Linked DNA regions of Homo sapiens: region 2 is linked to region 1. Evidence: promoter capture Hi-C in 16 types of primary human blood cells and fetal thymus (Javierre and others, 2016). All regions are on one chromosome and are shown on one strand. The core of a region is centred on a gene start or on the middle of the fragment in contact, and the rest is flanking DNA. Distances in the headings are between cores, read along the strand shown. Region 1 holds the start of LINC03010 (long intergenic non-protein coding RNA 3010). Region 2 has its middle 17 kb from the start of MNX1-AS1.

Region 1 (4,618 bases), core at 1,146-3,645:
CACATGGCGAAGGCAGAGGTGGCTTTGGGATGCTGCACCTCTGAGCCCAGGGAGCAAGCGTTCCTGGAGACAGCAGAGGCCAACAGGGCGGGAAGGGCCCTGCCCACGCCTGGACTTTGGACTCCGGTCCTGTGGGGGAACACATTCCTGTTGTGTAGGCCCCCCGGTTTGTGGCACTTCGCTAAGGCAATGCCGGGAAGCTGATGCAGAGGGGTAAAGTGACAATCAGGCAGTGATTCCCCAACAGGTGAGCAGGACTGGGGAGGCTGGGGAGGCTGGGGAGATGACCCAGTCCACCTCCAGCACCCACCGCTGCTGAGAAGCCAGGCAGGAGGCAGTGGAGGGGAGGCGTTGAGAAGCGTGGAGACAAGCAAGTCTGGACCCTGCTCCGCAGACCAGACACCCCCCAGAGACACCCCCCAGAGAAGGCGGGCGTGGGAAAAGAGGCTAGGCTGGAACTACACCTGGGTGCCCCTCCTGGGAAGCAGGGGGTTTGTGAACACCTCCAAGGGGCCTCTCTGAAGCTGTGCTGTGGCTCTCGGCCTCCCCAGCCCCTGCTGGTGTGAAGAACACAGAAAGGGGTTGGAATAATCTAGCAGCTGCTTGCTGTCCCAGGCTGGCCAGCCCCCACAAAGTGTTCCCATCTGGCCCCAGCCTGCACAGGCAGCACTAGCAGCCCCCCGTGAGTAATTTGCAGGCTCGGATGGATGGGCAGAGCCCAACCAACTTCAGCCAGTGGAGGGAAGGCCTTGGCCTTTGCAGGTAGGGGAGACAGCTCAAGGCCAAAGATTCCCATCAAATCCTGAAACGCCTCTGCCCAGCCTGGCCACCCGAGACCGCACCCAGCCAGGAGCACTCCCCAGAGAGCCCACACACGCTTCCAGGTCTTCCTCCCCAGCCTGCCAACTCAGTCTCAGCATCACTGGTTTCATTTCACTTAAAAAAAATTTTGTTTCAATTTAGCTTCATTTGGTCATTTTAAAGAATAAGTTGTCTGTGCCCCCAGGTAGGGTTATTTTCTATGTTGCCCATCCTCTGCATAAGGCGTCACTGTCCCTGGGAATATACAGGGATTCTATGCCTGGCCTCGGAAACTGAAATGAAATAAATTTGCACCATGAGAGAGTAGGTCCAACTCTGCACAAATTAAAACAAAACACAACAAAAAATGTTTCAGCCAGAAGTAACATTCGACATGGTCTACCCCCATCAGCTCCTTTTACAGGTGAGGAAGTGGAGGCCTAAAAAGCTGGGAAGACTTGCTCAAGGTTATGCTCAAGGTTACATCCACCTCTTCCTGCAGGGTAGAGGCTGGAGGGTCTCAGAAAGGCTCCCTCCCTCCCTTCCTGCTTCACAGCTGGGGACTGGAGGCCCAGATCCAGACCCAGAAGCTGGAAAGAAATCCCAGGTTGTGAGGCCCGTCCTCCCACTCAGCCCCCAACTCTAGGCCTGGGACCCTCCACAGCCCTCCAGGCACCAGGGGACCAATCGGGATGGAACCAGCCCCTCAAGACCCAGGGCCACTACCTAGCAAGTCCCTCCTTATCTGGGTAGCCTATACCCCCCACCTTGCCTTCCCCAGACCCTGTGCTAGGGACCCCTGCCTCAGGAAGTGAGCCCTACTGAACAGATGGGGGGCGGCATTTGTGGCTCGCGGCCTCTTTCTCTGTCCCTCCCTCCCGGCCTGCCCCCTGCCCTTCGAAGAAATTGAATTCCAAGGAGGAAGAGGGGAGAAAGAACACCCAAACCCCTGCCTTCTCACTGCATAAATACCTAAATCCCGGGTCCTCCAGAGCCTGCCTGGAGCCTGCCAGCCGCTGCCTGCGGTCCTGCCCACAGCCTGAGGTCCCGGCCTGCACCTCCTCATAAGCCCACACTGGCGGTGCCATGCCATGGGCTCCCCTGGGCTCCCTCTGCCGCCCAGCCTGCCCCGCACACTCCACTCGCGCCGCCCGCCCTTTGCTGCAGGACGGGGCCAGCCAGGGCAACTCTCCGCAGCCCAGAGCTCTCGTCCCTTGAATCCTGCCGGTGGAGCAGGGGGCAAGGGGGAGCCAGGCACGCCCAGCCCCGGACCCGCAAGCAGGGACCCTCGGGGCGGCGGTCCGCACAGGGCAGGGGCTGCTGGAGACCCGCGGCCCCCACCCCCGACACTCACCGCGCGGTGCCCAGCGCGCGCCAGGGCTCCCATCAAGTCCTCTCGGAGCCCGCAGCAGGCTCCCACTTCTGTTTTTCTCTGACAGCCATGCAGGCAGCAGGCCTTCAGCCAGGCTCCCCGCCGCGCTTCCACGCACGCACACTCACAGTCACGCTCGTGCACACTCGCACGCACACGCACGCTCACGCTCATGCACACTCACACTCACATTCGTGTACATGTACACATTCACACCCGCATGCACACTCAAACTCACGCTCACGCACACTCACGCTCGTGCACGCGCACGCATACACACGCCCGCGCTCACACGGACACGAGAACTCGCCCCGCTGCGCGCCTGGCTCCCGGGACGCCTGGAGCTGGGGAGCGAGGGCCCCGGACGCCTGTAGCCGCCAGGGGAGGCCGGAGGGGCAGACGGGTGCAGAGAGCAGCCGGAAAGGCAGTGCCCGGCCACCAAGAGGCCGATTACTTGAGGGGCCTGAGGTGTGGAGCCCAGGCCGAAGACCCTGGGTGCGAGAAGGCAGCGGCCAGGAGGCCGCCCTAGAGCCTCGGGAGCGGGCGGGGGAAGGGGGATGTCCACGGAGACCAGAGTTGGTGGCTCTGACCGAGGAGGGCCTCGCGCTCCCCACGCCACTTGGCAGGGCTGGGGACACGCGCCCTCTCCCCCCTCTCCCTGGGGCCGCGCAGGGCTGTACCCGGGCTCTGCCCAGATCCCCTCGGAGCGGAAGATGCAAGTTGGCTTTTGTCTGACCCGGTCAGACAGAGCCGTTCTGTGGGATAAAGGCTTAACGCTCCGTGAACACGCAGAAAAAGCTCCGCGCTGGCCCTCTGACAATCCCATTGTCTCGGGCCTGAGCCCGGCGGTTTGGTCTGAAAGCGCCAAGTTCATGACATTTCAAAGAGCAATGATACTGGGAGAGGGGGGTGGGCAGGGGAGGGAGGGGTGTGCAGGAGAAATACATTCCTAAAATACGAAGTAACAGTATCTGACTCCCTCGCCAGCGCGTTCCTCAGCTCAGCCCCCTGCCCCACCCTCCACGAACCCATTCAGACCGAATCCCCTTCTCCAGCCCCGTGTGGACCCAGAGCCAGGCTGCAAAAGTCAGGATCACCAGGGACTGCGGTTTGGAAGGTGAAGGTGTGAAAAGATGCCCAAGTAGCTGCGTGGAAGCTTCCTGGAATGTCAGCAGAGTGACAGCAGCCGTTTAGCACAAGCTCCCATTGTCTGCACTGCCCCACAAGATAAGAATTTGCCAAAAAGGACTTTAGGTGCCCACATGAGTTTATTTTAAAGAGCTAGAGTGTTACTGTTTTCTTTCATTTGTATTACTGTTCGTACTATATCCTTTAAAAAAAAAACTATTTTCTGAGCCAGGAAGCAAAGGAGCTTCCATTTTTAGTGTTTAATTTGTTTAATGTGCCTCGGCAAAAGCAAATAATTCCTGAGAGAAAGCAGAATCCTCAGGAAATTGAATGTGTTTTGTCTCCAGCGAAGTTTCCCTTGAGTGATTTCGTTTGCTTTCTGTCTCGCCAAGCAGGCTCTGCACTGGGACCTCCAGCAGGCTGGGGCCAGGCTGGGCAGTCTGCAGCCCCTCTCCCCACCTTAGGTGGTGAGGCTTCTCTGATCCTCAGCCCACTGGCCAGGTAAACTGTGCTCCCGAAGAACAAAACGTAGCCTTGTAGAGTCATTCTAATGCGAGGAGAAAATAGGATTAGGCCAGAGTGTCAGCCAGGTAAGTCGGATTAACAGCAAGGTCCAATACATTTTGGCATTCTTGTGCTATTTTTAATTGTACAAAGGTATATGCTTCCCTTCCCTGGCTTTATTTAAAGAGGCTGTTTGTTTGTGCCCAAGAGGTAAATGATGAGCGATAAGGCTCTATGAGGAATTGGAAATGTATAACCTTGCAAAATGACATTTCGCCCTGGAAAGTGTGACACGCACACACGGGTAGATAAAGGGAGAGTGCGGAGCGTCCCGGGCTTTGTTAACGCTTCTTGCCCCCTGGCGTTGCTTTGATGGAAGGACACCCCACGCCTGGCTGCAGAGGTGTCTGCCAACGGCAGGAGCTCCTTCCCCACAGGCAGCCAGGCAATGACTACAAATCGATTCATTTTAAAAAAATATCCAAAGTCAGGTGTTAAAAAACGTATGAACCAGGATGGTAGGTCATTAAACCGTGGGAGAAAAGAGTTGGCAAAAACCTGCTTATATTATTTTTTAAAATATATATCTGTATTGCATTTTGCCACATGCAAATTTAGTCTAGGTTTGTTAATCAGGATCATGTGAGTGTGTCATAAATTAACATGATTTCTTCGGGGCAAGTCAAGAGAGAATGTATAATTGTTTAAGTTTGCAAATCATTTAGCAATTAACTTGGGGGGCAGAGGGCTGCAGTTCCCGGGTGGCCAAGGACATTCATGAGCCATGTGGAAGTTACTGAGTCGAATTGTAAC
Region 2 (4,887 bases), core at 1,436-3,935, 1.6 Mb before region 1:
AAGTTGTGCCATGATTCCTCTGCATATTTTCTGTCTGTGGAGGAGCCCAGCAAGCATTTCCCCTTAGGTGATCTAAGTATGAAAGATTCACTAACAAACAATAAGTGTAGAGTGGTGATCACTCAGAATGATGGAAAGGTGACAGTGATGCTGATGACGAGAGTATGTTAATAAAAGGTTTCCTAAATTGCTCCTTAACTAAATCAATAAATCCCAACCTAGGGTGTCCAGGTCTCTAGGCACCTAGGAAGGTAGCCATGGGGAAGGGGAGGGCAGTGTCTTCCAGGTAATTCCCATATGTTATTTATAAAAGCTTAATTGAAATCCTGCGCTCTCTCTTCAAGAGGTGGCCTTAGCTAGTCTTCGGAATCTCTGGTTGGAAATGGAGTTAGCTTGCCTCAGTGCAGGATGTGTGTTCTCCCTCTCATGTGGACAAGATGCTCAATATAGATTTAATTAATTGTTTTAAAGCAATGCATTATTTTAAATACAGCTTGGTATGCAAGTATAAGGTTATTAGGGGAAAAAAAGGGGGTCTTTCATGGTGCAAAGTTTAAGCAGCAACCAAATGAATTCTAGAAAGATCATATACAGACAAATTAAGAAACAATTATGGCCAGGTGTGGTGGTTCATGCCTGTAATCCCAGCACTTTAGGAGGTAGAGGCGAGAGGATCATTTGAGCTCAGGAGTTTGAGACAAGCCTGGACAACATAGCAAGATCTCATCTCTATTTAAAAAAAAAACGATTTATAATGAACATCAAAACACATAGGTTACAAATTCTCATTACTAAGTATCTGGCTAAGAAACCAGAGGGGAAAAAACCCACGAATTTGAAAAGACCAAATAAAATGAACTAGTAATGAGTTAATTTTAATAGTTTATATTAAATATTAATAGCTTAGCAAATCACCACTCACCATTTAGAAAACGCTGGCCTACACCCTGTAGACTATTCTAGAACAAGAATGTTATTCTATGCTATTGAAAAAGAATAGGTCCTAGTTATTTGAGAACCAATATAATGTTCACCCCCAACCTCCAAGGACACTTCACTGTCTTTTCCCTTCCCTGTCCTCTTAAAAATAAAGGGCAGCATTGATATACTGACTTTACCTATGTACATCAAAAGCCCTGAAAACCATGCAACGTCCACAAACACATCAAAAATGAGGCAAGCATTTCTGTGATTAAGGGAGAAATGTCACTCTAGGAATGTCTTGTGCTGTTTCACCGATGAAGGGGACAGGGTCGTGGAAGGTGGGGACTCAGCCCAGGCGCAGGGGAAGTCCTCCCACTGTGGCCTTCCCGTAGGCTGAGCCTGCCGGCCTCGTCTGCAGCAACCAGAAGACCAGTGAGAACACGGTCCATAAAGAGCTACTGGCTTGTTCAACGACTCACGAGGTTTTTATGGAATGCTTACATTTTGAATTTTAGAAGCTAAAGACAAAAACCCAAAAAGCAGTCAGCCAGCGATTTTTGCAGGACATCTGTTTTCTTTGGCTCTCGTGAGAACACCCAACTGTAGGATTTTGAAGCTTGGTGGCTTTAGGTGAAATGCAAGGTCGTGCCAGGTTGATTTAGTGCATTATTAGCTGTTTATACAGTACTGAAGCAGCACATGACGTATGAAAAATGACTTTCCGATCTCAGGGAATAAATCAGGACTAGCAAGTGATTCCACTTAATACTTAACTTTAGCGAGTAAAATATTACACCTGTTATTATTCAGGGCAAACACAGCCCCTTCCATTTGTTTATTGAGGAAACAATTTATTTGAGGACATTTAATTGCAATAGTGAAACCTGACTTGGGGGGTTAATCCCAGTTTATCGATGCAATTAAAAGCAGTGTGTGCTGTGTCTCGTATTTATTATCTAGGGGTAGAATGTTGACACAACCCCGGTGTCGAGATGGGTGTGCTTGAGAGTATCTGCGCTGTGCGAGGTGTAAGGTGGATGTTGCGTCATGTGTACAGCAAACACAACTCTATTCTGTGTCAGCGTTTGCATAACCTAATTGGGGAAAGGCTTCTAATTTGATTTTACTTGGAGCAATATAGGTTCAAATTGTTATATAGATCCAGCATTGTTTGGTTTCTTGTCAATGATTCATGGTATTTTAATGCCCAGCAGGCAAATACTAAAGCTTCTCATCACACATTTGGCAGTATTCCACAATTCCCTTGGCCTGAATTCCGCCCCCTTTTTTCTTTCCCCACCACTAGATCCCCATCCTCCCATATCTCAGATGTTGCTGCCTCTGGTCTAAGTCAGTTCCTGGTGTCTGCTCCCTCACAGCTTGTTGAGGCCTGTGTCCCTTGCACACACCCAGGTCGGACGTTCTGACTGGGGAGTGTGAAGGCTGTGTCACTTCCCCTCTGTCCCTTCCTGGGATCCATCATGAAAGGCAGCCAGAGAAGGCAATTTCAAAGATTTTAAAAACTTCTCTATTGGCCAGGCGCGGTAGCCCCGCCTGTAATCCCAGCACTTTGGGAGGCCAGATCACGAGGTCAGGAGTTCGAGACCAGCCTGGCCAACATAGTGAAAGCCTGTCTCTACCAAAAATACAAAAATTAGTCAGGTGTAGTGGCACGTGCCTATAGTCCCAGCTACTTGGGAGGCTGAGGCGAGAGAATCACTTGAACCCGGGAGGCGGAGGTTGCAGTGAGCCAAGACCACGCCATTGTACTCTAGCCTGGGGGTGACAGAGTGAGACTCCATCTCAAAAAAAAAAAAAAAAAAAAAAACCTCCCTTTTAGGGACCACTTCCCAACTCATTTTACAAGTCTACTATTTTGCTGACATCAAAGCCAGATAACGACACAGCCAGAAGAGAAAATGACAGACCAATATCCCTGATAAACATGGATGGAAAAATCCGCAACAAAACACCAGCAAACTGAATTCAACAGCACTTTAAAAGGATCATTCCCTGTGATCAAGTGGGATTTATCTCTGGATGCAACGATGGTTCAATATTACAAATCAATAAGTACAATATACCACATTAACAGAATGAAGGACAAAAACCATATGATCATCTCATTCGATGAATAAAAAGTGTTTAACAAAACTCAACATCCTCTCATGATAAAAAAAAATTCAACAAATTATGTATAAGGTAGAAGGAACGTGCGTGCCTCAATATAGTAAGGACCATATATGAAAAGCTCACCGCTAGCATCATACTCAATGGTGAAAAGCTGAAAGCTTTTCCTCTAAGATCAGGAACAAGACAAGGATACCCACTGTCACTGCTTCTATTCAACATTGTCCTGGAAGTCCTAGCCTAGCCAGGGCAATTAGGCAAAAGAAAGAAATAAAGAGCATCAAATAGGAAAGGAGGCAGTAAAATTGTCTCTGTTTGCAGATGACATGATCTTATGCACAGAAAACCCTGAAGACTCCACAAAAAACTGTTAGAACTGATCAACAAATTCAGTAAAGTTGACGGATACAAAATCAACAAACATAAATCAGTAGCCTTTCTATACACTACGAACTGTCTGAAAAGGAAATTAAGAAAATGATCCCATTTACAATAGCATCAAAAAGAATAAAATACTTCCATGTAAATTTAACCAAGGAGGCGAAAGATCTGTGTAATAAAACCTATAAGACACTGAAGAAAGAAATCAAAGAAGGCTACAAATAAGTGGAAAGGCATCCCCTGTTCGTGAATCAGAAGACTTAATATTGTTAAAATGTCGGTACTACCCAAAGCAATCTACAAATTCGATGCAATCCCTGTCAAAATCCCAATGACATTTTTTGTATAAGTAGAAAAAACAATCCCAAAATTCATATGGAACCACAAAAGACCCCAAATAGCCAAAACAGTCTTGAGAAAGAAGAACAGAGCAGGAGGCATTCCATTTCCTGATTTCAAACTCCATTGTAAACCTATGTGATAAAAATGAGCATGGTTCTGGCATAAAAACAGACACATAGACCAATGGAACAAAATCTAGGGCCTAGAAGTAAACCCACACATATACGGTTAACTGATATTTTTTCTACTTTATTTCCTATAGAGATGGGGTCTCACTAAAGCGCCTAGTCTGATCTTGAACCCCTAGGCTCAAGTGATCCTCCCATCTCAGTCCACCAAGTAGCTGGGATTACAGCACGTAACACCATGCCTGGCTCAGGTTAACTAATATTTGACAAGGATGCCAAGAATAGACAATGGGGAAAGTATTATCTCTTCAATAAACGGTGTTGGAGAATAGATACACACAAGCATAAGAATAAACCTTGACCCTTATCTTACACCACTCACAAACATTAACTCGAAATGGATCAAAGGCTTAAATGTAAGACCTGAAATGGCAAAACTCCTAGAAGAAAACACGGGAGAAATCTCATTGATATTGATCTTGGCAATGATTTTTGGATTTGACACCAAAAGCACAGGAAACAAAAGCAAAAATGAAGTAGGGCAATTTCATCACATCAGAAAGCTTTTGCACAGCAAAGAAAGCAGTCAACAAAATGGAAAGACAACCTATGGAATGGGAGGAAGCATTTGCAAACCACATATCTGATAAAAGGTTGATATCCAAAATATATCAGTAGCTCATACATCTCAATAGGAAAAAAAAAGTAATAATCTGACGTTAACACGGATAAAGGGCCTGAATACATATTTTTCCAAAGGAGACATACAAATGACCAACATGTACACAAAAAGGTGCTCAATGCCACTAACCATCAGAGAAATGCACATCAAAATCACAAGCAGCACTTTACACCTGTTAGCATGGCTGTTATCAAGAAGACAATAGGTAAGTGCTGGTGAGGGTGGAGAGAAAGAGGAATCCCCTACGCAGCTGGTGGGAATAGGAATTAGTGCAGCCATTACGGGAAACAGCTTGGAGTG

Evidence for each region. The method cuts DNA at HindIII sites, captures the fragments that hold promoters and counts their contacts. A CHiCAGO score of 5 or more calls a contact.
Region 2: a contact is called between a fragment that was not itself captured here and the fragment with the promoter of LINC03010 in region 1, in 1 of 17 cell types (naive B cells). The highest score is 5.7, in naive B cells.

Annotation. Positions count from the first base shown.
Region 1 is chr7:155,379,853-155,384,470 of GRCh38, reverse strand. It overlaps LINC03010 (long intergenic non-protein coding RNA 3010), which reads right to left and starts at 2,395. Exons shown (of 3, transcript NR_147174.1): 1 at 2,156-2,395. RefSeq lists enhancers at 1,526-2,337, 2,338-3,149. The HindIII fragment of the contact is 8,785 bases long and covers 1-3,331 here.
Region 2 is chr7:157,025,130-157,030,016 of GRCh38, reverse strand. No RefSeq gene overlaps it. Among named protein-coding and RNA genes, the nearest start is that of MNX1-AS1, 17 kb to the right of the region's middle. The HindIII fragment of the contact is 1,064 bases long and covers 2,154-3,217 here.